Linked DNA regions of Homo sapiens: regions 1 and 2 are each linked to region 3. The links are contacts of gene promoters, found by promoter capture Hi-C in human tissues and cell types (Jung and others, 2019). All regions are on one chromosome and are shown on one strand. The core of a region is centred on a gene start or on the middle of the fragment in contact, and the rest is flanking DNA. Distances in the headings are between cores, read along the strand shown.

Region 1 (4,466 bases), core at 218-2,717, 120 kb after region 3:
GAGTACAGAGAAAAAGGAAGCTTTGTATACTGTTGGTGGGAATGTACATTGGTACAGCCATTGTGAAAAACAATATGGAGGTTCTGCAAAAAAAAACAAAAACTACCATGTGATCCAACAGTCTCACTCCTGGGTATATGCATATATGACCAAAGGCAGTGATCAGTATTTCAAAGAGATATCTGCCACTCGCATATGTTCATTACAGCATTATTCACAATAGTCAACATATGGAAACAAACTTAGCATCCATTAATGGATGAATAAAGAAAGTGTGATGTATATTTAAACAGAATATTACTCAGCCGTAAAAAGGAAATCCTGACATTTGTCACATGAATAAACCTGGTGGACACTATAAAATAAGGCAGACATAGGCAAATACTTCATGATCCCACTTAATTGTGGAATATTAAAAACTTAAACTCCGAGGCAGAGGGAGGAACGGTGGTTACTAGAGTCCAGAAGGTAGGGAAAATGGAGAAATGTTGGTCAAAGGTTAAAAACCAAGTTGTAAGGTGAACACGTTCTGGAGATTTAATGTACAGCATGGGTGGTCATCAATGTGTTAATTTGACTGTGGTAACCATTACAGAATGTATATATATACATCAAAACATAACTGTACATCATGAACATATACAATCTTTGTGAAGTATTTTAAAATAAAAAAGGAATGTTTACTGAATCTACGCCTGTTGGATCTTTGTATTACTGAGAAGTGTTGAAGTCTTCAGTTAACTGTGAATTTTTCTGTGTCACCTTGCAGTTCTGTGTGTTCTTGCATGACGTATTTTGGCAATTTGTTAAGTGCATGTATTTAAAATTATGTCATTTCTATTGCTGGGTCTTAATTTCTTCCTGAAATATCTGATCTGGTTATTCAATCCAGTGCATATTTTATACCAGGCATTGTTGTTTTCCTTTCTAGTAGCTCAAATTGTGTCTTTAGTTTTTAATTTTTTTTCTTTCAGACAGGGTCTCCCTGTCACCCAGGCTGGAGTTCAGTAGTGTTCTCTTGGCTCACTGAAACTGCTGCCTCCCAAGCAAATGATCCTCCCACCTCAGCCTCCTGAATAGCTGGGACTACAGGTGCACACTACCATGCCCAGGTAATTTTTTAAATCATATTTTTTTTTTTTTTTTTTTTTGGAGAGACAAGGTCTTACTATATAGGTCTTACTATATTGCCCAGACAGGTTTCCTGGGCTCAAGGGATCTTCCTGCCTTGGCCTCTCGAAGTGCTGGGATTACAGGTGTGAGCCGTGTGCCAATGTGCCTGGCCAGTTTTTAATTTTTTTTTTTTTTTGAGCCGGAGTCTCGCTCTGTCACCCAGGCTGGAGTGCAGTAGTGCAATCTCGGCTCACTGCAAGCTCCGCCTCCCAGGTTCACGCTATTCTCCTGCCTCAGCCTCCCGAGTAGCTAGGACTACAGGTGCCCACCACCACGCCCGGCTAATTTTTTGTATTTTTAGTAGAGACAGGGTTTCACTGTGTTAGCCAGGATGGTCCTTGAACTCCTGACCTCATGTGATCTGCCCACCTCGGCCTCCCAAAGTGCTGGGATTACAGGCGTGAGCCACCGCACCCGGCCTTTAATTTTTTTTAAGGTCAAATATAGTAACATAGAATTTACCATTGTAAGTATGCCATTCAGTAGCATTAAATACATTAACAGTGCTTTAGAACCATCACAGCTAGCTAGCTAGTTCCAGAATTTTTTCATTAGTCCAAAAAAAAATTGGTACCCATTAAACAACCATTCCCTATTCCTCCCATCCCCATCCCTTGGTAATCTCTATTTTCCTTTCTTGCTCTATGAATTTGCTGATTCTAGGTGCGTCATGTAAGTAGAAGCATGCAGTATTTGTCCTTATGTGTCTGGCTTATTTCACTTAGCATAATGTTTTCAAGGTTCATCCACATGTTAGCATGTACCAGTAATTCAGTTTTTGTGCCTGAATAATATTCCCAAGTGTGGTATATTGGATACACCACACTTTGTTTATCCATCCATATGTTGAGCACTTGGGTTGTTTCCACAAAACTCTTTTGACTACTCTGAATACTGCTCTAAAATCAGTGCGTATGTGTCTGAGTCCCTGCTTTCCATGGTTGATTGATTGCAACGGAGTCTCGCTCTGTTGCCCAGGCTGGAGTGCAGTGGTGCGATCTTGGCTCACTGAAACCTCCACCTCCCAGGTTCAAGTGTTTCTCCTGTCTCAGCCTCCTGAGTGGCTGTGATTACAGGTGTCTGCCACTATGCCCAGCTAACTTTTTGTATTTTTAGTAGAGACAGGGTTTCACCATGTTGGCCAGGAAGGCTGGTCTTGGACTCCTGACCTCTGGTGATCCACCCACTTTGGCCTCCCAGAGTACTGGGATTACAAGTGTGAGCCACCGTGCCTGGCCTCTATTCTTTTAGATACATACCTAGGAGTGGAATTGCTGGGTCACAGGGTTTTCTATGTTCATGTATAGCCATACTGTTTTTCACAGTGGCTGTGTGTAAAATTCTCCCCAGCAATACACAAGGACTGCAGTTTCTATGCATGCTCACCAACCCTGGTTATATTCTACTTTTTGTTTTAAATGGCAGCCATTCCAACAGTTGTGAACTGTCACTGGTGTTTTGATTTACATTTCCCTAATCACCAGTGGTAATGAGCATTATTCCATGTGGTTGTTGGCCATTTATATATCTTTGTACAAATGTTTTCAAGTCCCTCACTCATTTTTGAATGGGCTCATTGGTTTGTTTTGTTGAGTTGTAGGAGTTCCTATGTATTTTGGGTATTAATCTCTTCCAAGATACGTGATTTGCAAATATGTTCTCATTCTGTATGTTGTCTTTTGGTGCACAAAAGTTTTAAATTTTCATGTAGTTCAGTTTATCTTTTGTTTGCCTGTGCTTTAGATTTCATATCCAAGAAATGATTGTTAAATCCAATGTCATGAAAATTTCTCCTATATCTTCTTCTAAGTCTTCTATGGTTTTGGCTTTTAAGTTTAGATCTTTGACTCAAAATTAATTTTTGTATATAAGGTAAGGGTCCAACTTTATTCTTTAGAATGTAGATACCCAGTTTTCCCAACAACATATGTTTAAAGACCATCCTTTCTCCATTGAATGATCATGGCACTGTTGTCAAAAAATCATTTGACCACATATGCAAGCATTTTCTTTCTAGGATCTGTGTTCTGTATGTCTGTCCCTACACAGTACCATGTGGTTTCGATGATGGTAGTTTTATAGCCAGTTTGAAATCAGGAAGCGTGAGTCTTTGAACTTTTTTTCAAGATTGTTTTGGTATTAGGGGAGATTCCAAATGAACGTTAGGGTTGATTTTTTCTAGTTTTTTTTTTTTTTTTTTTGAGATAGAATCTCACTCTGTCTCCCAGGCTGGAGTGTAGTGGCACAATCTCAGTGCACTGCACCCTCCATCTCCTGGGTTCAAGTAATTCTCCTGCCTCAGCCTCCTGAGTAGCTGGAATTACAGGCACGAGCCACCACACCCGGCTAATTTTTTGTATTTTTAGTAGAGACGGGGTTTCACCGTGTTGGCCATGCTGGTCTTGAACTCTTGACCTCAAGTGATCTGCCTGCCTCAGCCTCCCAAAGTGCTGGGATTACAGGTGTGAGCCATTGTGCCCGGCCTAAAAAGAAGGCCATAAGGATTTTGATAGGGGTTGCATTGTATCTGTAGATTAATTTGGGTAGTATGCTCATCCTAACAATAGGAAGTCTTACAATCCATGAACATGGGATTACTTGCGATTTATTTGTCTGTTCTTTAATTTGTTTCAGCAATCTTTTGTAGTGTTCAGTGTACAAGATACAGGCCTCTTGGCTGAATTTTTACTGTTTTTGGTGCTTTTGTAAATGGAATTGTTTCATTAATTTTCTTTCAGACCGTTTATTGTTACTATATAAAAACGCAACTTGGGGCTGGGCACGGTAGCTCACACCTGTAATCCCAGCACTTTGGGAAGCCAAGGCGGGTGGAGCACGAGGTCAGGAGTTCCAAGACCAGCTTGGCCAACATAGTGAAACCCCATCTCTACTAAAAATACAAAAATTAGCTGCGTGTGGTGGCATGCGCCTGTAGTCTCAGCTACTCAGGAGGCTGAGGCAGGAGAATCGCTTGAACAGGGAGGTGGAGGTTGCAGTGAGTGACACCACGCCACTGCACTCCAGCCTGGATGACAGAGTTAGACTCTATCTCAAAAAAAAAAAAAAAAAAAAAAAAATGCAACTTGGGCTGGGCTTGCTCGGTGGCTCACACCTATAAGCCCAGCATTTTGGGAGGCTGAGGCAGGAGGATCACTTGAGGGCAGGACTTCGAGACCAGCCTCAGCAACATAGTGAGACCCCCATCTTGTTTAAAAAAAAAAAAAAAAAAAAAGGCCAGGTGCAGTCGCTCACTCCCGTAATCCCAGCACTTTGGGAGGCCAAGGCAGGCAGAC
Region 2 (4,824 bases), core at 391-2,890, 110 kb before region 3:
TATTTTTAGTAGAAACAGGGTTTTGTCACTTTGGACAGGCTGGTGTCCAACTCCCGACCTCAGGTGATCTGCCTGCCTCAGCCTCCCAAAGTGCTGGGATTACAGGTGTTAGCCACTGTGCCTGGCCAGGATTTACATCTTTTTAATATTCAGTGTCCATTTTACAAGTTATGGTAGCTATAGTCACTTTAAATACTTTCATCTTTTAGCTTTTATACTAGAGTTGAAAGTGATGTTTGTACCACCATTATGTATAAGAATATTCTGGATTTGACTATACTTTTGCCTTTACCCATGAGTTTTATACTTTCATATCTTTTTGTGTTGCTAATTAGCTTAACACTTTGAATGTATTGTCCCACTCTCTTGACATCCAAGGTTTCTGCTAAGACATATATTTATAGTCTTACAGGTGTTGGTGAGGATTTAGAGAAAAGGGAACCTTGGTATACTGTTGGTAGAAGTTTAAATTTAAATTGATACAGGCATTATGGATAATAGCATAGATGTTTATCAGAAAATTAGAAAAGGAATTGCTACATGATCCAGCACTCTGCTTCTCCATATTTATCTAAAGGAATTGAAATCAACATCTTGAAGAGATATGTGCACTCCCATGTTCATTGCATCATTGTTCACAACAGCCAAGATATGTAAACAACCTAAATGTGTGTCAACAGATGAATGTGTGATGTTTACATAAAATAAAATATGATTTAGCCTTTAAAAAAAGGAAATCCTGCCATTGACAACACCATTGATGGACGTAGGGGACATTATGCTCAGTGAAATAAGCCAAACAGAAAGGCACATTCTTTGTAGTCTCACTTATATATGTAATCTAAAATAATCAAACTCATAGAAGCATAGAGTAGAATGGTAATTTGCAGGGGAAGGGGGAAATGGGGAGATGAAGCTGAAGAATACAAAGCTTCAGTTATGCAGATAAATGAGCTTTGAAGATCTACTATATGGCATAGTACCTATAGCTAACAACACAATGATTTTATAGTTAAACATTCCTTTTAAAAATGTTTAAAAATTTGTATTCATTTTTAAGATGGGATCGTGCCCCATTATCCAGGCTGGAGTGCAATGGCACAATCGTGGCTCACTGCAGCCTCAAACTCCTGGGCTCAAGCAATCCTCCTGTCCCAGCCTCTTAAGTACCTGGGACTACAGGCAAATGCCACCACACCCACCTAAGATTTTTACATTTTTTTCTAGAGATGTGATCTCACTATGTTGCCTAGGCTGGTCATGAATTCCTGGCATCAAGTGATCCTCCCACCTTGGCCTCCCAAAGTGCTGGGGTTATAGGTGTGAGCCACTGTGCCTAGTCTTAAAATTTCTAAAATAGATATTATGTTGTATTCTTAACACATAGAGAGACACACAAATAGTAATAATAATGAAGGGGGAAAGAAACTTTTGTGATGAATATGTCTATGTCCTTATGATACTGAGGGCTTCATAGGTGTATACTTATCCCCAAACTCATTGAGTTGTATACATTAAATATGTACAACTTTTTCATGTCAATCATTGCCTCAATAAGTGATTTAAAAATATAAATTTATAGGTGAGCTTTGGTCAGTCATTAATTAGTCTATTGATGTTCTCCTCTGGCTTATCTCCATCCTGCTTCATAGATGGCCACAGTCTTGATTATTTGATTATTCTTTATACCTTTATCTTCCATTTCACTATGTGATGTTCTTTTAGTTGAGCCTTATTTGAACTTTAAATACATGAGTATTAGTGGAATTAACAATGAAAAGGTTTTTGAGTGGTTTTGCCTCTGTGTTTCACATGATAGTGACAGGCTGGGGGAATCCAATTTTATCATCCAATCCATTGATGGTGGTGTTTGGGCTTTTTCCAGTTCATTTTTTGCTCTTGTGAAAAATACTGATCCTATTGTTTTGGTATCTGTGTCTAAGTACAAATACACAATAACTTCTCTGGATGTTGGAGAAAAATCACTGTGCTATAGATTATGGTCAAGTTCAAATATACAGGAAATAGCAATGGAGTGTATCAGTTGATCTTTCTTCCATTCATGCATAACTATTTGTCTATTGGCAGTGGTCATCAATACTTGGGAGTAGCTAATTGACTGATTTTTGTCCTTCTAATATGTAAGAAATTGGATCTATTTGGTATTTCATTTGGCTGTATCAAGGAAGGAGCGAGATGTACCTTTTCCTTTTTTTTTTTGAGACAGAGTCTCACTCTGTCACCCAGGCTGGAGTGCAGTGGCGCGATCGTGGCTCACTGCAACCTCCACCTCCCATGCTCAAGCAATCCTCGTGTCTTGGCTACCTGAGTAGCCAGGATTACAGGCCCGTGCCACCACACCTGGCTAATTTTTGTATTTTTTGTAGAGACAGAGTTTCGCCATGTTGGCCAGGCTGGTCTCAAACTTCTAACCTCAAGTGATCTGCTCGCCTCGACCTTCCAAAGTTCTGGGATTACAGGCGTGAGCCACCGTGCCCAGCCAGACCTTTTTTCATATATATGGTGTGTCATCCTCTCTTAAATATGTTTTCATTATTTTTCCTTTTTTTTTTTTTTTTTTGAGATGGAGTCTCGCTCTGTCGCCGAGGCTGGAGTGCAGTGGCACGATCTGGGCTCGCTGCAACCTCCACCTCCCGGGTTCAAGCAGTTCTCCTGCCTCAGCCTCCCAAGTAGCTGGGATTACAGGTGCCCACCACCATGCCTGGCTAATTTTTGTATTTTTAGTAGAGATGGGGTTTCACCATGTTGGCCAGACTGGTCTTGAACTCCTGACCTTAGGTGATCCACCCGCCTTGGCCTCCCAGAGTGTTGGGATTACAGATGTGAGCCACCGTGCCTGGCCTGTGTTTCCGTTTTTAAATCATGTGTTCACTTTTTATTTATTTGGCTATTTTATTACTTATTTATTGACAGAGTCTTGCCCTGTTACCCAGGCTGGTGTGATAGCTTACTGCAGCCTCTAACTCCTGGGTTCATATGATCCTCCTGCCTCAGCTTCCTGAGTAGCTAGGACTACAAGTGTGAGCCATCATGCCTGACTGTTCATTTATTTTTACTCTGCATACTAGTTCATTTATATTGCATGTATGTCACATATTTTTTTCCTGCTTTGTGATTTGTCTTTTAACTTTCTTGATTTTAGTATGTTTGAACTTTTCAGTCTCATCCTTTATGGCTTACTCTTACATGAGAAAATTCTCCCTACTCTTGCATTTAAAAAAGTTTGCCTGTGACTTTTGAAACAGTTTTAATTATATTATTCACATTTAAATCTACATTAAATTGATTATTGTCTATGGAAAAGAGCTGATGCAATGCTTTTTCCAGTTAGACAACAGTGTGTCCCTTCTGCATATATTGAAGTGTTAGTGATCTCTTCCACTACCCTACAATGGTTGCTCTATCATTAATCAATTTTCCTTATAAATGCCAGTCCATTGAAGACACTTTTCCCCTCCCTTGTTCTATTTAGCTCTCTGTGTGTCATGCTGTTTGGAGTGTTAATAGTTTGAAAATCCTTGATACATACTAGGCAAGTATTTATGTTGCTCTTCAAAAGACTTTACCCATTGTTTGACATTTATTGTTCCTCTTAGGTTTGGAAAAGTAGTTTTTCTTGACTATTTTAGGGATTTGTAGAATTTTATAAGTCTATTTTAAGAATTTTATAAGTCTATTTTAGGGATTTGTAGAATTTTATAAAGATATCATTTGGGAGCAGTGGCATCTTGTTGACACTGAGTTTGTTCTGAGAACATGTACCAACTTCCACCTTAATTTAATTCTGCTTTGACATTACCCAATAACATTTTTAAAATTAGGATTATTAAATATCCTTTATTAGCCTTATTTAGTCATAGTTGGTGTGGAGGAAAGCAGATGCAACCAAGCCTTTAAATGTTCTTTCCTGATGTAATCACATGGAATGGGCTCAATTCCCCAAGCAACAAGTTGTGATATGATATATTGTCTGCTAGGGAAGCTCATTAGAGACCCAGTGCTCACAGTGCTTTTGGGGGGCGGATCAAGTAGGCATCCTCTGCCTGGCATGTGAAAAAGTCCAGACTCTAAGAAGGAAAAAAGGAGTTCAATATATACTCTATTGATTCCATAAACCATTTAGGCACGCTAAGCCACTCTTTTTTTTTTTTTTTTGAGGTGGAGTCTCGCTCTGTTGCCCAGGCTGGAGTGCAGTGGCATGATCTTGGCTCACTGCAAGCTCTGCCTCCCGGGTTCACGCCATTCTCCTGCCTCAGCCTCCCGAGTAGCTGGGACTACAGGCTCCCGACATCACACTCAGCTAATTTTTTGTATCTTCAGTACAGACGGGGTTTCACTGTGTTAGCCAGGATGGTCTCGATCTCCTGACCTTGTGATCCGCCCACCTCAGCCTCCCAAAGTGCTGGGATTACAGCGTGAGCCACTGCACCCAGCCACACACTAAGCCACTCTTTATCACTTAGGTTGGCGGGGTCCCTCCCAAATTCTCACTTCCCAGATATCAGTGAAGGACAACAAATGTTTGGAGACCACAGAATCATATGTGAACTTTTTATGAATTGAATATATACCCTCAGGCATTTAAAGATAAGTAGTCTTAGGTTAACATTTTACTAATGTTAACAGTCTTCTGCACACTAGGTAGTAGGAATTTCTTTGAACAAGTGCCATAGAACCACTGTACAAGGAACAATTAGAACTTACGTGATCAGCTCATTTTACTCCTTTGACCCAACAACAAGAAAGGTGTGGATATTTCTGTTACTTTACCAAATAGGTAAATTCTAGTATCAGGATTGCTGT
Region 3 (4,319 bases), core at 32-2,531:
ATAAGTATTTAGGTAAATAAATGTGCACAGGCCAGGCGTGGTGGCTCACGCCTGTAATCCTAACACTTTGGGAGGCCGAGGCCGGCGGATTGCCTGAGCTCAGGAGTTCACGACCAGCCTGGGCAACATGGTGAAACCCTGTCTCTACTAAAATACAAAAAAATTAGCTGGGCATGGCAGCGTGCACCTGTAGTCCAGTGTGCTACTCGGGAGGCTGAGGCAGGAGAATTGCTTCAACTTGGGAGGCGGAGGTTGCAGTGAGCCAAGATTGAGCCACTACAGTCTGTCCTGGGTGACAGAGTGAGACTCCGTCTCCAAAAAAATAAAATAAAAATAAATGTGCATAAGGCATGGCAGTGTAGTATGGGAAAGGAAAGGGAGTGGAAGTTCACAGCACATTCTGAGGCTGTATTTTAAGATGAGAGGTAACATCTATGCAGTTTATCTCGAAGTTATTATCTTGAGATCAGGAGGGGAAAGAGGAAAAGGGAAAGAAGAAGAAAAAAAAGGTTTAAAACGTGGTTTGAGACTCAGCTGCTAAGCTGCTGGTTACACACTCTGGGACTCAACTTCAGGAGTCAGAATCTGCCTTCTAAGCTTGAAAATATGTTTAACCTCCTGAAAGGGGGTTTCCTGCTGAACTGTGGCTGAAATTTCTCTGAACTAATTCAGGTTTTTTCTTTTCCCTTCTTTTGATTCCTTTATAGAAGATTACTGCCATATAATTCCAGATTTTCCATGCATTTAACAATTTTATTTCATTGTTGATGTGTTTTTATTTTCTGGTCTGAGAATGAGTAGATTGGGAGATAAGGTGGGAGAAAGGCTTGACCATGGAGCCAGCAGTCTCATCCTAAATTCCTGATCCCTGGAGGACACCAGGCCTTCCCTCCTGCTTCAGTGTGGTTTGTGTGGCCTGGGCCTCCCCTACCGCTCTGAGGCCAGGGGATGGCTCCACTGGGCAGTGAGTCTCGAATTCCCAGCACACACTTGTGGGTCCCCGTCCAGGAAGAAGGAGCAGGAAGAGCCCATTGAGTACAGGCAGGAAATTCCGCTTAAATGCAAATGTCCCCTGGGAGGGGTCAGGTCACAGCGAAGGGAGGAAGCCCACCCTATCAAGGGCTGTGTCTGGAACCGCTTCATCTCGCTCCACTCAGCCGTGTAAGATCCTTCTTCTGTCAATCAGTTCCCTGGGGGGGCGGAATTTGGAGCTCTACCCAATCAGTGTTGGGGGCGAGTTCTTGGGAACTGCCAGTCAGGCGCGCTGCCGGGAGGAGGGTGGAGCTTTCTACACCCCTCTGAGCTCCCGCTCCTGGCTCTGTAGCTGAGAGAAGCCCTGGCAGGTCAGTGGCAGGCACTGTCACGCTGAGTCCTATGCTGGCAGCGGGGAACCTTGGGGAGAACACGGGACACCGCGGAAGCCGGGAAATGGTGAGTGTGCGGGGCCCGGCGTCCTGGGGCAGGGCGAAGGACTGGTTGGAACCGGCCAGAACCGGCTGTGGCGGGACCCGGGCGTCCCCGCGGCGACTGCGGGGTCTGTGGACCCGAGTTCCCCTGGCCCAGCCGGCCTTCAGTCCCCTCGGCCGCGGGGTGGGAGCTGGGGGCTGGGCCGGCAGCCGGGACCCCGGGCGTCCTGTCCCGTTTCTGCGCAGCAACTGCGGCCCCGGCTCCCGCGCCCTCTCTGGGGCAGCTCCATGCCCACAGCTCCGCGTCTTCCCAGATTGTGCGGCTGTAACCGGCACAGGTTCGCGGTCCGAGTCACTGCACCGAGACTCCAAGGCCTGCAGCAGAAACAGTTTAATAGGGGGAGAGGAGAGAAGACCCCAGTTCCGCCTCCATGAGAGGTTTGGGGATGGGGGTGTTTAGGGGTCTGGACAGGGGCGGCTGAAGTGTGGGGTCGCTGGTTGGTGGGGAAGTGACAGGCGAATCCTGGGACGGGAGGTGAAGAAACCGCATTCTCCTGCTGAGTGGGTTCCCTCGTGGGGTTTTCACCCTGCTTGGCGCCAGCCTTTCCGTTGGAATTCAAGATCTGAGAAAGAACTTGGGCAACTCGAGCAGCTCTCCGAGATCTTATCCCCAGGCACAATGCAGAAGCCGGCGGTCAGTGTCTTCTGTGACCTGACTCTCAGGAAGGCGGCCCCCGCGAGGCAGTGGGGCTCAGGGTACCTGGTTAATATCTAACTGCAATCAGAATCCAGATTCTTGCGTGGGGTTTGTGCACGGGAGGAGCTGTGGTCTGCGGGGTCCCCAGTCCCTTCTTTTCTTCCCAGGGTGACTGATTCCTCTTCGAGTTTTTCAGAGATGGGGGTAGCAGGGTCTCAAATCCACTACCCTGTTCCCTCATTCTAACTCCTCCTAGGGGTGGTAGTAACTCCCTTGGTTTCCAGAGCCTTACGCAGGCTAACTTTCCCTCCTCAGTTCACAGCAACATCATGAACTCCTCCCTCCTCCGCCCCACCCGTGCTAAATTTCAGAGTCCCAGTATTTTAATTTTCATTTTGTTTTCAGAGAGCAATGGATGGCTTCTTTTTTTCTTTCTTTCTTTTTTTTTTTTTTGAGATGGAGTTGTGCTCTTGTTGCCCAGGCTGGAGTGCAATGGTGCGATGTCGGCTCACCGCAACCTCCGCCTCCCGGGTTCAAGAAATTCTCCTGTCTCACCCTCCCGAGTAGCTGGAATTACAGGCACCCACCACCACACCCGGCTAATTTTTTGTATTTTTAGTAGCGACGGGGTTTCACCATGTTGGCCAAGCTCATCTCGAACTCATGACCTCAGGTGATCCGCCCGCCTCGGCCTCCCAAAGTGCTGGGATTACAGGCGTGACCACCGCGCCCGGCCGGCTTCTTAAAAGATTTGTGTTCCTGAACATTTCACATGTGAGGAAGCAGAGAATAACCTGACACTGCACTGTAAAAAACAAAAAAACAAACAAAAAAACCTTTGTGTCTCTCCTTTTCTTTCCCCTGGGTACGGATACCTAATCAACATTGAAAGTCCCCTTTAGAAACTTTATGGGGTGATGTGTTCTCAGCCCACTCTCTGCCTTTTCCTGGTTCTGTTTCAGAACTGCCTGGGGTTGACCCAAGATACACACAGCTGCCCTGTCTCTGGGAGGGTCCAGTGAATATCAGTCCCTGGGTCATTTCTCCCAGTGAGCAGCCTGAGGTGTTGGGGTGGGGCCTCACAGAGAACAGCTGGATGCCCTGGGTGGGATGGGAGGAATATTCTGGTATACCATTTCTATAAAAAGCTAACCCTTGGGACAATCACCTTGTTCTTCCCCAACCCCAGTTTCCATTCCTTGGGGACACACGGCTGGTCAGCCAGTTGAATGATTGTATTTGGGGGAGAAGACAGAAGTGATCTCTTCCTTCCTGACTCTCAGACTAATGAAGAGAGAAAACAATATGTAAGCACTGGAGAACCCACTCATTCCAGTTGTGCAAGAACCTCCCATTCAGGTCAGGTGTGCATGAGCCTGAAAAGCACACAGTGAAGTATCTCCTGGGGTGGTGGTGGGTGGTCACTGAGCACTTTACTGAGCAGATGGGGGTGACTAATGTCCCAGGAGATGGGATGACCTGACACCTGAGTTAGACTTGTTTGTGTTCGAGTCAGTGCTGCCCATCCCTGAGGTTGTCACATTGAAAAGAGATACTCACTCTTTTCAGCTTCAACGTTTTATTAACTATAAGATTAGAGATTGATAGAGAAAGTATTTCCATAGAGGCCAGAAATAGTTAGATTTCAGAAAACAGGTCACATATGTAGCCATCTATTCCTTTTTTTTTTTTTTTTTTTTTTGAGACGGAGCTTCGCACTGTTGCCCAGGCTGGAATGCAGTTGTGCGATCTCAGCTTACTGCAACCTCTGCCTTCTGGGTTCAAACGATCCTCCCATCTCAGCCTCCCGAGTAGCTGGGATTACAGGCCTGCACCACCACACCTGGCTAATTTTTTTTTTGTTTTGTTTTTTGTATTTTTAGTAGAGACGGGGTTTCACTATGTTGGCCAGGCTGGTCTTGAACTCCTGACCTCAAGTGATCTGCCTCCTCAGCCTCCAATTTTTTTTTTTTTTCCCAAGGCAGAAGAATTTTTCTTAGTACAGAACAAAATGGAGTCTCCCGTGTCTACTTCTTTCTACACAGACACAACAACAATCTGATTTCTCTTTCCTTTCCCCACACTTCCCCCACTTCCACTCGACAAAACCGCCATCGTCATCATGGCCCACTCTCAATGAGCTGCTGGGTACACCTCCCAGACGGGGTGGCGGCCGGGCAGAGGGGCCCCCCACCTCCCAGACGGGGCGGCCGGGC

What was found. Contacts are between HindIII fragments. The study calls those that stand out against the background at their distance.
Region 1: a contact is called between a fragment that was not itself captured here and the fragment with the promoter of ZNF442 in region 3, in 2 of the 25 tissues and cell types used here (H1 embryonic stem cells and lymphoblastoid cells).
Region 2: a contact is called between a fragment that was not itself captured here and the fragment with the promoter of ZNF442 in region 3, in 6 of the 25 tissues and cell types used here (aorta, heart right atrium, hippocampus and 3 more).

What each region holds. Positions count from the first base shown.
Region 1 is chr19:12,239,353-12,243,818 of GRCh38, reverse strand. It overlaps a transcript of ZNF44 not described here. Among named protein-coding and RNA genes, the nearest start is that of ZNF44, 53 kb to the left of the region's middle. The HindIII fragment of the contact is 7,661 bases long and covers 1-4,466 here.
Region 2 is chr19:12,470,279-12,475,102 of GRCh38, reverse strand. All of the region lies in intron 1 of ZNF709 (zinc finger protein 709), which reads left to right. Among named protein-coding and RNA genes, the nearest start is that of ZNF709, 12 kb to the left of the region's middle. The HindIII fragment of the contact is 7,611 bases long and covers 1-4,824 here.
Region 3 is chr19:12,362,645-12,366,963 of GRCh38, reverse strand. ZNF442 (zinc finger protein 442) reads left to right here and starts at 1,281. Exons shown (of 6, transcript NM_030824.3): 1 at 1,281-1,431; 2 at 1,721-2,162; 3 at 3,293-3,410. The coding sequence starts at 3,333. RefSeq lists an enhancer at 1,368-1,467 and a silencer at 1,568-1,747. The HindIII fragment of the contact is 16,775 bases long and covers 276-4,319 here.